3 separate regions of the Homo sapiens genome follow, and all the other regions are linked to region 1. Evidence: promoter capture Hi-C in 16 types of primary human blood cells and fetal thymus (Javierre and others, 2016). All regions are on one chromosome and are shown on one strand. The core of a region is centred on a gene start or on the middle of the fragment in contact, and the rest is flanking DNA. Distances in the headings are between cores, read along the strand shown. Region 1 holds the start of ARPP21-AS1 (ARPP21 antisense RNA 1). Region 2 overlaps LOC101928135 (a long non-coding RNA gene). Region 3 overlaps LOC101928135 (a long non-coding RNA gene).

The links. The method cuts DNA at HindIII sites, captures the fragments that hold promoters and counts their contacts. A CHiCAGO score of 5 or more calls a contact.
Region 2: a contact is called between a fragment that was not itself captured here and the fragment with the promoter of ARPP21-AS1 in region 1, in 1 of 17 cell types (fetal thymus). The highest score is 5.7, in fetal thymus.
Region 3: a contact is called between a fragment that was not itself captured here and the fragment with the promoter of ARPP21-AS1 in region 1, in 1 of 17 cell types (fetal thymus). The highest score is 8.1, in fetal thymus.

The regions. Positions count from the first base shown.
Region 1 is chr3:35,649,719-35,653,283 of GRCh38, forward strand. ARPP21-AS1 (ARPP21 antisense RNA 1) reads right to left here and starts at 2,243. Exons shown (of 2, transcript NR_046679.1): 1 at 1,990-2,243; 2 at 479-766. All of the region lies in intron 1 of ARPP21 (cAMP regulated phosphoprotein 21), which reads left to right. The HindIII fragment of the contact is 403 bases long and covers 1,920-2,322 here.
Region 2 is chr3:35,308,686-35,312,110 of GRCh38, forward strand. All of the region lies in intron 1 of LOC101928135 (a long non-coding RNA gene), which reads right to left. Among named protein-coding and RNA genes, the nearest start is that of ARPP21, 330 kb to the right of the region's middle. The HindIII fragment of the contact is 1,332 bases long and covers 686-2,017 here.
Region 3 is chr3:35,290,240-35,293,466 of GRCh38, forward strand. The region is part of intron 2 of LOC101928135 (a long non-coding RNA gene); the gene reads right to left. Among named protein-coding and RNA genes, the nearest start is that of ARPP21, 350 kb to the right of the region's middle. The HindIII fragment of the contact is 2,431 bases long and covers 314-2,744 here.

The DNA of each region.
Region 1 (3,565 bases), core at 993-3,492:
CTCCTGCTTTAAGCAGAACAGGTGCCACCAAGCTATAGGAAGCTCTTCTCTTCCTGCTACTTTGGAAAAATGATAGGAATAACCAGAGTTAAATAGAAAATCATTTAATCCAACTGGACCATTGAGAACTGAATTCACGTTTTACCCGATCTATAAAAATAATCTTGTTTGAAAGGAAGGGGTCCAGATGATTACAAATGAAATGAGTTTGCTTTCTTAATTTGTTTCCAACATTTTAAGAAATGCTAAGTGTAATGTTGATGGAATGAACTTCCATTCACCCATCCACTTTAAACACACACAGACACACAAACAAAAAACAAAACCTTATACCTTAACTTAGAAGAGGAACACGTTATCTTCTCTGAGACTGTGGCAGGCTTTAGGAACATGTAGAAAGCAATAGATTTTGACACCGTTGATATTCTCATCAGGAAGCCAGCAAAATACATTCGAGAACACATTGTTTCAAAGTAAGGGAACTTCCATGGAAGCCAAGTTAAGTAGCCAGCTGAGTTCTTGGGTGACGGCTAACAAGGCTTGTCTTTGCATCAGATATCATTACCATCACTCATTTATTCATTCTTATTTTTCAAGTATTTATTGAAGTTTTCTATGTATTGTGTCTCAGGCTAAATACTTGGGAAAACTTGATGTGTAGGATTTTATAGGCACTTGGATGAGATGAATGCATTTTAACTTTTCTGAACAATGAATTGAGTAATTGAGAGTTTCACAAAAATCCAAAGTGATAGGTAGACAATATCTTGGATGATAAAGTAATATGAATTAATTCCAACAAATTAGAAAAATCTTTCTTTACCAATAAAGTTAATTAGGTAATCCCTAGAGCGTACACTTTGAGGGTAGAAAAATATTGTTTCCAGAAAACAAACATGGAAGAGTGAGCACCACTGAGAAGCTTTGGTGGAGAGGAAAGTTCTGTTGGTGGGAATAGGCCACAAAGTAAAACCAACATTTAGGTTGCTCTCCAACAAGAAAAAACACCATCAACCAAGACAAATGTATATGAAATTAGTATGAGCCAGTCATATTCTCTTTTTCACTCCCATTAAATCATACATTTACTGTATTAGTTACTAGGGCTGCAAGTAAATGGTTGAAATTACATTGGGATTGTGAACTGAATCCACAGTTTAAGGTACCTGATCAGAGTAAAGTATAGAAAATACATGAACCAGCCTACGTATTTAGAATTAAAAATTAGGTTTATCAAAAGACAAGTTATTCTTTGAATTTGTTGTGAGATTCCACATTTGTGTGTTTGAGAAAGGAAACAGGAAAATTATTTCAGAAAAAAATGATAAAATATTATAAAATCTGTTAATCCTTAATAAATTAAAAATAGTGCCTGTGATCAGAGGAAGATGAAATTTAAATGGTTCTGTAGGAAAACCACAGAGGAATAAAAGATTTGATCTGTAGGTCATCTGAAGGATAATCTTTTTTTAAAGAAAAAGATGCATTATTTTTTCATTGGCAGCAAAAACAATTTAGATATTTGGAGGCAGAGAGATGTCTGGAGAAATATATATTGCCTCTGACCTGCCTCTTGTTCAAATACCTTGCTCTGAAATACTGAGAAAGAACCTACTTTTTGAAATTACCTGTAAGCGACAGGATTATGCCAGATAATATCTAAGATCTCTTCCAGTTTATAATTTCCATTATTTAATGACACTTTTTTGTATAATATTCATGCATCCATTTTTATTGGCTTGTTCATAAATGTTAACTATGCTTTGTTCTTTAGCGCTGAAAGTAAGCACTAATGCTACCCAACAGGAGTGAAATTTTTAGAAGGTGCTCTTATCAAGAATAGTTGGTTAAGAAAAGAAAATCTGGGTTCCCAGACCTGGGCTCAGATCCAACTCTGCAACTTAGTAGAAAGTTTCTTAAGCTTTCTAAACCTCAGCTGTTTCATTTCTAAAAGGGGATTGTTCTAAGAATTAAATATAAACTTCTTACCTCATTTCTTGGTACTCATTTTTTTCTGGTGATCATAGTTTTGGAGTTTCTTATGTCCTTATCACTATTTTTTCTTGATTGCATAGGCCTCACATAATTAAAGCATCCCCATAAAACCCCTCCCAGTGTTGAGAATGTTTTCATGATGTGGCAGTTATCTTGGATATTTTGTTCAGGCATAATTGGAATCCGTTTTCAACACAGCTATACTCTATATGATGAATGCTTCCACATCAATGGTTCTGTGAGGAGAGGCCATCTGTGAACACAGAGTGCAGGTCATTGTTTCTAGAAGGCACTCCTTGCACAGACAGCAGGATTTGACCTTTTATAAGCTTGGATGGGCAGTAGAGACTTTGAAAAAGAGATGTGGGTATTCATAGGTGATTCAGAATTCTATGTGTACACAAGATTCCATGCAGTATTTTATAATCTACTAATGTGACTCAGCTTTGGGTAAGATTGTAGTTCTGGTGGTGATTCACAGAGGTCTCCTAGATTTGTCTAGTAATACTGTAGAGAGTTTAGTCTTAGCATCCTTCCAGGAGCAATTTGGGACTGTTATCTAAGAACTAAGAATGATTTCAAATAAAATTACAGTAAACTTGTGACTTGTTCACTTTGCAGATAAAACCAATGGTTATATCCAGCAGAAGGCCATTTGTATAATAAAAGATTTGCCCAAAGGATCTAGCAAGAGAAGAGAGCTCTAAAATCAATTTTTCTAAAAATCACTGAAAACATTACCTCATTGTTTTGATCTAGCTGTGAAAATAGACTGTTTTTTATGTTTTAAGAAAGGATGAGGAGATATCACTTGTTTCATCATTTATTGATTGGATCCTTAGGCTTAAGCAGGGATCAAACAGTTTGCACTGTTAGCCAAGGCATTTACAGCATTGAGACAGAAGCAGACCTACAAACTTGAATGGGCTTATATATTTTACTGGGTAAATTTACCTAATATATTGAATTGACAGCTAAAATGTAGGTATTCCTGATGAGGTACATCGATAAATGGTAAAGAAGATCTACATGAAAGGAGTGTGATGTTTTTCTGAACTTGTTAGGGAAGCTACCATGTGGCCATTTGTGGAGGAAATCTGTACTTATTTCTGTATTGATTAGGTCATTTGTGCCATTTGTTCTGCTCTGCGGGAATTACTTCACTTGGCTTGCTCTTTCTGCACTCTGAATTACCTTGTTTCTCCAGGCAAAAATTCTTATCTGTATAGAAATCCAAGATTTCTGTAGCCTTGTGAGTATTATTTGCTGAAGGCGCAGGGACAGTGATAAGTGAAAAGTCAGTATTCTTCTACTGATTTTGAGTTTACCTTTGGATTATGTTTGATCAAAAGCTACATGTGGCATTGTGATTTCAAATAAATAATTTGTTTTATTGTCTTGTACTGTAAATGTTACCTGATATTTATAAACTCCCTCCTGTGTGAAAGGGACTTTGTGTGCCTATGTAATGTCCATACCTATCTACTTTTTGGCTGTAGTCATAGCAGTGACATTATCTCTGTTATGATATATTTAGGGATTCTTGTTGAAGGAAGAATGAAAGAAGTTA
Region 2 (3,425 bases), core at 102-2,601, 340 kb before region 1:
AACACACTGAAATACATATACAATTCATACACTCTAACACGCTGAAATACATATACAATTCATACACTCTAACACGCTGAAATACATATACAATTCATACACTCTAACACGCTGAAATACATATACAATTCATACACTCTAACACGCTGAAATACATATACAATTCATACACTCTAACACACTGAAATACATATACAATTCGAAATTTTGTAAGATGTGAGGCTGCATTTTCTTTTACATGGTTTCAACTACACAATTTCATTATTGTATGAATGTGATGTACATGTACATAATCATAATATTATGAATACTATTATTGCTTTCTTTTTTGAAAATCAAAGTACCGACAAACCACAAATAATTCAATGCTATTTAATGAAATAGAATGTATATTCTATAAACCTTGTAAATGTAAAATACAATATTTATAGTAATAGGAAGGGGGAAGAGAGATGAAAGAAATAAAGTCCTTATTCCATTCTCTTTTATAGCACAAAATTAGTAGGTATTTTCAAAGCTTGATAAATCAAGAAATAAATATTAAATTTAGAATTTAATGCTAGAAGTGTCAATCTCTGAAAATAATAGTAATATATCCAACAATATTGGGATTAGAAGTTAGAAGGGAGAAAATGGGAAGGTGGGTAGTAACATATGAATGTTTTCTAAAGCAGGGAGATTGTAAAGCTTGTCTAGAAAACAATAATCAGGAATGAAGATATATATATACATCTTATATATATATATAATATAATCTTAAAATGTTAAACATTTCTTAATCTTAAATGTTAAACATAATCTTAAAATGTTAAACAAAGAAAAACTAAATACAGACATATTTTCGGTATTTTGTTATCTAATGAATGGGGTTAAAGGAAAGACTTTAGTAAAATTTTATTTCCCTTTCAATGGTTAGTATTTTTAATATGTGAAAACATTAATTGTATACCTGTTAAATAAAAATAAAATACCACATATATTATCCCAACATAAAGTAGTCCTCGGGAATTATATGCAATTTGCAGATTCTGTCAGGTTTCTCAGGAAGACGTGCTCAATTTGTAAATTTATGTGACCAGGGAATATTTATTAATAATGCCTATTTTTAACCATAAGACACTGTGTAACTATAAGTGCTATATGGTTAAATGGTACTTATGGAAATTGTCTATTATTCTAAACTATCCATTTTTTAAGTATGCAGTGAAGAGAAACTCTTAGCTTGGTGCTTTAAAAGGTGAAACAGAACTTGAAAAAAAGTGAGGCAAACCACTGTGACATTAAAGCAGAGTGTGAAAAACAGCAGAAAACTAGTGTCCAAAGGGGAGGAATTTGAAAATCAGTGAAACTTGGAGTTTTGAGAAGTGCGGAAAAGACTTAGTGAAGCCCTGGAAGGGATACTGGAAGTGCTTTGCCTAAATATCACTGGTTGCTATAAATCTCAGTCTCAGGAACCAAGATCAGCTTTCTTTTCTAGGCTAATATTAAAAACTTGTTTATAAAAAATACATACATACATATATGTCAAAAGATTGTAATATTCACATTTCTGACAATATACACAGCAAACATGTTATGATTATATCTTTCTGTGGTTTCTGTTTTTATCTTTGGCAAAAGATATACACTTCTGAAATTAAATATTTCAGATGTAAAGCTGTTGAAACTTTAAATTATTCGAAGCCTTGTGAGAAATGTGGCTATGTGGCCTGAGTCAGGTGGCATGCAGCTGCAACTTCTGCCTTTTGTTGCTGCAAATAATTAGGAAGACCAAATGGTACCAGAGATGATACCCCTTCTGATCACTACTGTCCTCACAGAGTAATACAGTTATCTTTCTTGGAATGTAGCAACGTGTAACCAATAGAATTCCTGTAACATGCACTGGTCTTGTGTGGGAAATGTTGTAATCCTGCTAAAATTTATCTGTCTCTGCCTATATAAGTGAAACCTTAACTTCTTTATTTTGGAACACTGACCCAATTTGAGGTTGGTGCTTCACAGGTGATCACCCTCAAGCTTTGCCCTTCAATAAACTCTAAACTTAATCATATTTTCTGAATCTTATTATTTAAGGTTAACATACTTATTTTTTGTTTTCATTTTTACCTTCACAGATATTTATGGTTTTATAGCTGGTCCTTTTTGGGTTGCCAATTTATTTTCTTACTGCATTTCATTAGGCTGGATTACTAAGGTTTGTTTTAAGGCTTTCTATAGGAATAAGTTTTTAAATTCCTTGTGAGTAGCTAAAAAGAAAGCTTTTATTAAAGTGTAACATTTTCAAATATATCCACGAATCAACCTTATTAGTCATTGTATTCAGACAATCTACTTCTTATTTTCATGATACATATAATATGCTATGAGTGGATGCTTCCATTGTATTTCCGTCAATTTATCCTTGCAATATCTGAGATATCTGAGTTATTTATTTAAATCAATACATACTGTGATGATGATAGATGGGTCCAAGTTGTATATATTACCTTTATCCTTTATCATTTTACATTATCTATTTTTATTTTGTTTCTTCTTTGGTGTGTTTGGTTTTTTTGTTTGTTTGTTTGTTTTTGAGACAGAGTTTCACTCTTGTTGCTCAGGCTGGAGTGCTGTGGTATAATCTCAGCTCACTGCAACCTCCAGCTCCCAGGTTCAAGTAATTCTCCTGTCTCCGCCTCCTGAGCAGCTGGGATTACAGGTGCAGGCCACCATGCCCAGCAAATTTTTGTATTTTTAGTAGAGAAGGGGGTTTCACCATGTTGACCAGGCTGGTCTCCAACTTCTGACCTCAGGTGATCCACCTGCCTTGGCCTCCCAAAGTGCTCGGAATTATAGGTATTAGCCACTGCACCTGGCCTCGATTTTTATTTTATTTGATATTTTATGCCCCAAACAAACTTAATTGACTGTTTATCATATACCAACTATCTTGTTTAATATGTCAAGCATTTTTTAAAATTAATTTTTAAAAATTAAAATTATTCTTTTAATCTTGAAATTTCTAAGATATATTTATTCAATATATGGGGTTAGTTTAAAATTTTCATCTATTAGAATTTTGTTATTTTAATGAGTACAAATTTTCCATTTATATTAATATAATATTTATATTTTGAATTAATTCTGCCTTTATTTCTTCTTTTAAAAACACTTTTATGTTTACATTGCTCTCTGCCATTTTACTATATAATTTTTTCTCCAGTTGTTTTGTGGTATGCTTTTGTTTGAATAAACATTTTTATTCCTGCTAATTTGTAACATAAGATTCCTTTTAGAACTTGTAATGGTTGCTGTTTTAATGGGAATGTTTTTAACCATCTAGTCTCTGATTTAGTAGACAGGATACATAGTCTTCATTAGGAGAGCTGAGAAAACTAGCACAGCCACATCAATCTCTCTTTTCCCTTTTTTAATTTATTGGT
Region 3 (3,227 bases), core at 279-2,778, 360 kb before region 1:
AGCTAGGATTACAGGTGCCCACCACCTGCTCAGCTAATTTTTTGTATTTTTAGTAGAGATGGGGTTTCATCATGTTGGCCAGACTAGTGTCGAACTCCTCAGGTGATCTACCCACCTTGGCCTCCCAAAGTGCTGGCATTACAGGCATGAGTGGCCACATTTGGCCTACTAACAACATTCATTTGGTAAAATTGGTGATGATTAAAAAGAAACAAAATACAATAGTGAGGTTTCTAGGCCACATGATGAGAACTGACCAGGCAAAGGAGCAGGCTCCCTGTAGCAGTAGAAAAGAGATTTGCTTTTGTGGGCAAGCTTAAGGTACCAGAACAGTCATGGCTGCCAAGTGTATGATAAAAGGAAGAGACATAAACAGGTTGGATCTAAGAGACAAAATCAGCACAAAAAAGCCAAAATTTATTTTTAGTTTAATTTTAACACAGCATATTGCATTTGAAGTACCGGGAAAAAGCACATATTCCTATCGGTGTCTAGGGGTGAGGAGGAAATATTTAGGGCATAATAAAAATATGCAGTTCTGATGGTATGTATTGTGATCTGAGAGAAATTCTTAATTAACATCAAAAATTCTTTCAAAAAGTATGCAATAAAGATATCCAACTATGCCATTTTTGTGAATAAGAAAAGTTAAATGTTACGCATAAAAAGTAGGCACAGGTGGAGAATCCAGGCTGCAGTAGTTGCTGTACCACTTTCAATTATGATCATAGATGATGCATTTATCCTTAATGGGCTCTTTTTTCCATGGGTGTGAAAGAAGTACAACTCAGGGCACTTGCCATGCTCCTGTGGGTCATTGAAAACTTAAAATGTATATAAAATTAAGAAAGCAAACTCATTCACTTAGAAGCATGTTTTTAATTGAAAATAAGTATATTCTATGTGACAACCATTATACTTAGGCAACTGGATTTCAAAGATAAATAGGACACCATCCAAATCCTCAAAAGTCCAATAAAGAATAAAGACAAAACAATTATGTACGAGAAAACAAAATGACTTGTTAAAGAAATTTGCCTGTTTACACAATACTTTTTATTACTTTACTCCACTTGATCCTTACACCAATGCTAGGAGCTAGCAATGTAGTAAAAAAATGTATTATTCCTATCTTGTTAAAACAAACGAGAAAACTGAGTCTTAGAGAGTTGTAGTGATTGGACTGTGGTTAGAATTTTGTAGGTGAAGACTCCAGGTTTTCTGACTGTGAATGATTGATTTTTTTTCCACTGAAGTAATAACAGTCTTCCAAAAAAGAAATGGATTTCTCCTCTGTTATTGCAACAGTGAAGATACAAAACAAGACTCCGTGTCTATAGAAAACCAAAACGTCAATCATGTCACTCAGTGATTCAGTAGATTATCTGGAAATGTTGTCCCCATGATGTCATTTATCTACATTGTTCACCTAGTTTACTGTTTTGGCCAGATATTTTAGCATGGCCTCAACACAGACTTAGAGCCTAGCACAGCACACTGGTAAAATATTTTACCCAATGACTCAAAATGTCAATTACACGGTTGGTCCAGATTGCCTTGCTACCACCAACATATTTTTTAAATGAAAACGATCAGAAAAGGCAGAAATAACAGCATATTAATGAAGATCATTAGTAAATGATAAAGATTAGGCTTTGGCCCAATCATATTTTCATCTTAATGATGGCAGAGAAGAGATAAGGTAGTAAGAGGGTGGTAGAGACAACTATGGAATCTACACATCCCCTTCAGTTCCACAACTCACTGCTTACCTTGGAGGAAACCCAGATCTATGACATGCCAGTGACTCCTAGTGATAACATTTTTGTGTTGCAGGAATGCTGCCAAATCTTGTCCTTGGAATTGACAACCTCAGGTAAAGAGATAATAAAACTGCTATTTAGAGTGTCTACTGCATGTTAGGCTGTTTTAACCATTTAAAACATTGCAATATAAGTGTGCATTTTCATATATGGAACCCAGGGCTCAGGGAGGTTACATATTTTATTCATGGTCAAATTTCAATTAACAGTAAAAAACTGTCTTAGATCTGGGCACCTTCTATAATGCTGATCTGCAAAATGCTTCTAAAGGGCTTAATTGAGAATGCTTGTCATGGAAAAGTCACAGGATGAAAGCAGACACTGAAGAGGCAGGAGCTATCTGTAACAGTGAAAAAGAAACAACCTGGCATTATGAAACAGTATGAGTTTGGAATTTAGGATTAGATAGTGATATGTATTGGTATTTATAAACTCAAGTGTTTAAGGGATCATGTAAGCCATATAGTTCAACTGCCCATTTAATACTTGAGTTTCCTCCATAAGGTCCCCACTAAGCTGATCCAGCTAAGTTTCTCTACTTTGAGCTTCCCTATTATTTGACACAATATCCTTTACCTCCTGTGTTACGCCTCACATTCTCTCAATCCTCCTGTACCCTATTCATTGCCCAGCAGGCAGCTGGGTTCAGGAGTAACCTAACCACATTGCTCAGCTGTTCAGTGTATACATTTCTTCTATAGGAGTTCTTGAAGACCACAACCAGAGATCTGAAAGAACACCCTGGCAATCACTCATACACAAATATGGGAGGATGAGGGATTTAATACTTCATGTGGCAACTCTGATCATCGTGGCGTGGGACCTAGAACCATTCCTTGAGCAGAAAATTCTGAATTAAGTTAGACTTGACTGCATCAAAGAATCAAGTAGAATTTTGCCCCTGTTGCCAGAGCAGTGGCAAGCTTGACAATGTACCCTTGTATTTGTTTTCTTTTTTCATTTTCCATTGTTGTCCTTTTTCCACTCCTGTTCCCCTGAGTTTCTTCCTAAAGCGAACTACCTAGACACACCTTCTTTGGCTCTACTTTCTGAGGATTGGTCACTTCGGGCTGCTATAAAGAGAGATCCTTTCCAATCCTGACCTAATATTCAATGTGGCCTCAAGGTTTTTTTTGTCCTCATCTTCTTGTGTTTTATTAATTTCCATACACCTAGCACCTAACACAGACTTCAATCCCATAAAAAGGAATCACAATATCTAATCAATGGGTATATAGATGAATAAACAGTTGAAATAAGTGTGGTCAAGGTAAATGTATTTAGGATTAAAGTGCTCTCTAAGGTTGAAGGAAAGTTTTGCCCGACTAGTTAAAGGTAAAACTAGTTACAGACAAAGTAGGAAACATCAAGAGGCTTAGGATTTATCCATTTCTTATCATGATA